2 separate regions of the Homo sapiens genome follow, and region 1 is linked to region 2. The links are contacts of gene promoters, found by promoter capture Hi-C in human tissues and cell types (Jung and others, 2019). All regions are on one chromosome and are shown on one strand. The core of a region is centred on a gene start or on the middle of the fragment in contact, and the rest is flanking DNA. Distances in the headings are between cores, read along the strand shown.

Region 1 (2,700 bases), core at 70-2,569, 230 kb after region 2:
CCAGAACTTGTTAGTGATGGCAGTGAGAAAGCGTATAGAGGTGAGGGAGGGAGGTACCCTCCACATTTTAGGTAGTGACTGAGGGAAAGTGTTGTTTTCACTGTGTAGCCTCAACCCTAAACCCTAAGGCTGGGGTTTAGGTTGCAAAGACATTTAGCAAGGAGAACATACAGAAGCAGAAGTGCCTGTTAGAGTCCTACAGATCACCCATCAAATCATGTGCATATACATGTAGTAAACCAAAAAGTGACTGAAGCAGATCTCAATCCATCAGAAGTGTATTTTACCATAGTTGAAGATGCACCTGAGAAAAACAAACACGTGCCTCAGTAGGATCTGCAACCTATGCTTTATCCACAGAGGGTTTTGGGATGTTCAGTATTTAACCAAGAAAGAGGCTGGGCACAGTGGCTCATGCCTATAATCCCAGCACTTTGGGAGGCCAAAGTGGGTGGATCACTTGAGGTGAGGGGTTTGAGACCAGCCTGGCCAACGTGGTGAAACCCCGTCTCTATTAAAAATGCAAAAAAAAAAAAAAAAATAGCTGGGTGTGGTGGCAGGCACCTGTAATCCCAGCTCTTGAGCTGAGATCACGCCACGGCACTCCAGCCTGGAAGACACAGCAAGACTCCATCTCAAAAAAAAAAAGAAGAAGAAGAAGAAAGAAAGAAAGAGCAAGCATTTGGGGAAGAAAAAGAAAAGGAGGACAGGCAGGCAGTGAGGCAAGCGGCTCCATCTTGGTAGGCTCTGATTAGCACTCAGTGAATCTACATGTTACATGTGCAAAGAAGAGTACAGGAAAAGCCAATTTTGCATTCTTCTCTTGCTTGGTTAATCTACATTTTAACATGTTACATAAGATAAAGTAAGCATGTGGAATTACAGCTATTTGGGAACAAAAAGGAAGGCAGTTTTTGTGTGACTCAGTTTCTAAGCTTAACTTTCCATTTGGCATAGTGAGTTTGGGGTGCCAAGATTCTATTTTCCTTTCACAGTATATACGTAGGTATTCAAGAGGCATATCATATGCATTTTGCAGCTAGACTCCCATCCACTGGCACAGTGACCATCCTGGGAGAAGATACAGGCATGAAGCTGATTGCAGAATAGTGGTGTCTCCTCTCATATCTCGGTTTTGCATTGGGATGCATACTTCCTGAAGTTCTCCTTTTCTTGGCGGTTGCTACTGAGGATATAGAGTTGAATTCGGGTAATGTAGACTGGAGTATGATGCGACTTTATCATTATCTCCTTAAGTCATAAGCCTGTAGGGATTGGGGACTTTACCGTTGAAATGAGCCTTTTCTTTTTCTGTGTTTTAGTGATGTTTGCTGCCAGAGATCTTCAGAGAGATTTAAAAGTCATTTTAAATGGCACTTTTAGCATTAACTCTACCTATTAGGCTTTGTTAGAGCCTAATCTTCTCAGATTCCTTCTCATTCAAGAAATGTTGATTAAATATCTGAATTGTGCATGTATATCATAATTTAAATACATGGTAAATACTGAAAATCATACAGAGATTAATCAGATAGAGGTCCTGTTCTCAAGGATCCAGTTGACCCACAGATTTCTTCTTTTTTGATTCCTTTTATTTTTATTATTTTTTTTAGCTTAGAGAAAGGTCACACAAAGATAGTGATTTGGGAGAAGGTTCTTTTCCCTATTTGCTTGTTTCATTTAGCATGGGTGATAGAAACATCTTTGGGTAAAAGCAAACATCTGGCAAGGGTGCCTCTTAGATGGAAGGTTGAGCAGATATTCGGTGAAATATGAATCAGTGTTCCTGCTTTTGCTACGTTCAATTCTGAAGTTTGTGTTGCCATGGGGATGGAGACTGCCAGGAGAGCTGCCATTAGCAAGTTTGTTTGAAACTCTGTGAACCCTTGAGCCCCAGGGAAGAGAGGTTGGATAGGTCTGGTAATAGACCCCTGGGAGATGCTTGGGCATTTCTGCTGCCAAACCTTGTAGGGACAGGGTGGAGGTTGAGGATAGCTGAAACATAGAGCAGAAGTTGGGTCTATAGAAAGCACTTGAGACTCTTTTTTTAAAGAGGCAGAAACCTTCCAGCAGGTCTGTGCTCTGGGTGAGATATTCACATAAACAAATTAGAATTTTCTAGGCCTTACTGCGGAACAGGCTTTTACCAGTTGAGTAACCACAAACGCTTTTATTGCAATGTAAACTAAACACTATAAAATAAATGTCAATAACTTTAATTTTTTTCTACTTTTTTTAGCAAAAGGAATAACCCTTTAGCAGAAGACTAGTAAACATATATGAGGAAGTCTGGACAGAAAAAGAAAGGGTTTATAAATAGCAGACATAGCAGCCCTTGCTATCTGAGAAATTGTTGTAGGGAGGTGATAGCTTTCCTAAGACCACTAATAAAGGTCTTCCGTGCCTCTGGGTAAAAGGGACAGTGAGTCAGTTACCCTGCTCTTGTTCCTGTTTTTCTCCCTGCATCCCACCCCAACCATTATGTTCTTTCCATTTAGTCTGTAACTTACCTGGTCATTGCTGAATAAAACTTTGATTTTTGTGGTCAGGTTCAGTTTTTTGGAACCAAATGATTCTGAAAGTGCTATAGTAATACATGCATGTTTATCTTTTCATTAAATTTTTTAGGATCTTCGGGTAAAGATAAGCTCAAATCAGCAGATTTTTTTTTTTTTTAATTCAGGGATTTCTTCCAAGTGC
Region 2 (2,700 bases), core at 160-2,659:
AAGTGCTGATTGGTGCGTTTACAAACCTTTAGCTACACACAGAGTGCTGATTGGTGTGCTTACAATCCTTTAGCTAGACACAAACGTTCTCCAAGTCCCCACCAGATTAGCTAGACACAGAGCGCTGATTGGTGCTTTTACAATCCTTTAGCTAGACAGAAAAGTTCTCCAAGTCCCCACCATCCCAGAAGCCCAGCTGGCTTCACCTCTCACTGGCACTAGCCACGGGACTTTGTGGCACCTATCCGGAGCACCTAGCCCGGGCACTCCAGCAGCCTAGAGGGAGCTCGTCCCAGACAATCAAGAGCAAAAGACGGGAAGCAAGAAAGAGATGGAGACCCGCCATCGTGGCCAACGTTCTGGTCCACGCACGGGATTCAGCCTCTGATCAAGCCCCAGTTCCCGCCCACGCCTCTCCCTCCACACCTCCCGGCAAGCAGAGGGAGCCGGCTCCGGCCTCGGCCAGCCCCAGAGAGGGTCCCCCACAGCGCAGCGGCGGGCTGAAGGGCTCCTTGAAGACGGAGAGAGCTGAAGCTGAGGCTGAGGAGGCGCCAAGAGCGAGCCAGGGCTGCTAGCAAGTTGTCATCTCTCATTACTAGCATTCTCTCAGGAATATCCTACCGCAGGGTTCCCGTGTTTCATATACAATTAGTGATGAGGCTAATCATCCTGATCTCAAATTTCCTCTACCTGCCCACCAGCTGACTTAAACCCCTATACTGTGGGCATGCATTCTGCCCACTCTGAAATCTTAGGATTTAACTTCTCTTGCTTCCTAGAAAATGAACCACTTTGTTCCTTTAGTCATTTATTCACTAATAATTTGTTGAGAGGTTTTGTTTTGAGGAGCATGAAGGATCTGATGTAAGAACTACCACCGGTGCTGGTGATCACAATATATGCAGCTGATTAAAGTTCCTCATTTATGCTACCTACATCCCTGGTAAGAATTTCATTCCTTCAACCAATACTTTTCATTTGAAAGCATCTCATTACGAAAGACTTCAATCTTTTAGGCTTCTGCATCTTGCAAAACAAATATGGTTCCAAAGAGCCTATCTTTTCAACAAATCTTTGGTTTGAGCCTGGATGAAACAGTTATTACAGAATCAACTGGAGAGGAAAAAATCTTCATCTAACACTGAAGTCTTTCTATTCTGCGAGGTGAAATCCTTTGACCTAGATTCTGTCCCTTGAAAGGCAAGTGACAGTAGGTGAGCCTAAGAAAATTGGTTAATTCTTGATCTAAAAAGTTAAATTCATGAACCACACTGATTTGATTACCTTGAAAATCTACCAGACAGAAAGTTCTCCCTTTTATCCACCTTCATTGTTACCTTCAGAGCAGCTCTCTCCATAGCAACTGAAAACTTTTCTGGGCTGAAATAATCCTCTCTAGCTCCCAGTGCACAGTCAAAGAATTTTAAAAACAGGGAACTTTGTAACTGTGAAATACTCTCCAGGATTTAAAAGGCTGTGGAGCTCCAGATAAAGAATCGTTTATCTTTCTTCTGAAGGTAAGCACTGGGGTTAGAAATGCTTGCATCATCCTCTGTCACTTTTAAATTGCTAACATAACAACCTTAAAGTGTTGTTGTTGTTTTTAACTCATAAAAGTAATCCCAGTACCTTTGTTACTAGCCCACAGTCATTTACCAGCTCATCTCTGGGCCAGGATCGGACATGAGATGCTGTTAACATTTTACATGCCTTAAGCCATCAACAGAAAGATAATTTTTTTTTCCAGGAAGTTGATTGGCTCTAAAGTCATCCCCCACTCCTTTAGTCACCACTGAGTGAGTGTGTGTGTGTGTGTGTGTCATGTTCTTGAGGTCTCGAAATTCTGTTTTTCTAAGATGCTTCCTGCTCTAGAATCTTGATTCTTAGTAAACTAAAAAAAAGACCTGTGTTTTCTGAACATTACTATTTTCTTCTAGTGCTTTTCCTTGTCTAAAACTCTTTTTTTTTCTTTTTTCTTTTTTCTTTTTTTTTTTTTTGAGATGGAGTCTTGTTCTGTCGCCCAGGCTGGAGTGCAGTGGCACGATCTTGGCTCACTGCAACCCCCGCCTCCCGGGTTCAAGCAATTCTTCTGCCTCAGCCTCCCATGTAACTGGGACTACAGGCACGTGCCACCATACCTGGCTAATTTTTGTATTTTCAGTAGAGACGGGGGTGTCACCATATTGGCCAGGCTGGTCTCAAACTCCTGACCTCGTGATCTGCCTGCTTCAGCCTCCCAAAGTGCTGGGATTACTGGTGTGAGCTACCGCGCCTGGCCTAAAACTTTTAAACTCAACATGATGTTGGTCATTTAGTAGAATTTATTTTCTCTTTTTCATGAGGACCATGAATCACTTGGAGTTCTTTATAATGGGATAAACATAAGGTGTTTCCCAACCTGGGTCCTATAACTTGTACCACCTGTTGGTAAATGGAGAAACTTACGTGACGCTATGTTTAGTTTAGGGAGAGAGAATCTAGCAAGCTTTTTGGCTGCTGTGCAGTTTGAAAGTCTACAGCCATGGTGCTTTCCTGCCATTTGGGGTTAGAAATTACCTACAGACCCCCGCTGTGTAGAAACAGCTTGTCATTGCAAATCAGCTTAGCCACCCAATTAATGAATCCTTTCAAACATGTTGCAGGCACAATAATTGAAGGCTTTATTTTTCCCCTTTACCACAGAAATTCCTTTGGTTACAA

The links. The method cuts DNA at HindIII sites, captures the fragments that hold promoters and counts their contacts. A contact is called where the count stands out against the background at its distance.
Region 1: a contact is called between a fragment that was not itself captured here and the fragment with the promoter of SLC39A12 in region 2, in 2 of the 25 tissues and cell types used here (IMR-90 fibroblasts and lymphoblastoid cells).

What each region holds. Positions count from the first base shown.
Region 1 is chr10:18,176,942-18,179,641 of GRCh38, forward strand. All of the region lies in intron 2 of CACNB2 (calcium voltage-gated channel auxiliary subunit beta 2), which reads left to right. Among named protein-coding and RNA genes, the nearest start is that of CACNB2, 38 kb to the left of the region's middle. The HindIII fragment of the contact is 7,347 bases long and covers 1-2,700 here.
Region 2 is chr10:17,950,509-17,953,208 of GRCh38, forward strand. It overlaps SLC39A12 (solute carrier family 39 member 12), which reads left to right and starts at 1,410. Exons shown (of 13, transcript NM_001145195.2): 1 at 1,410-1,517; 2 at 2,683-2,700. The HindIII fragment of the contact is 7,346 bases long and covers 1-2,700 here.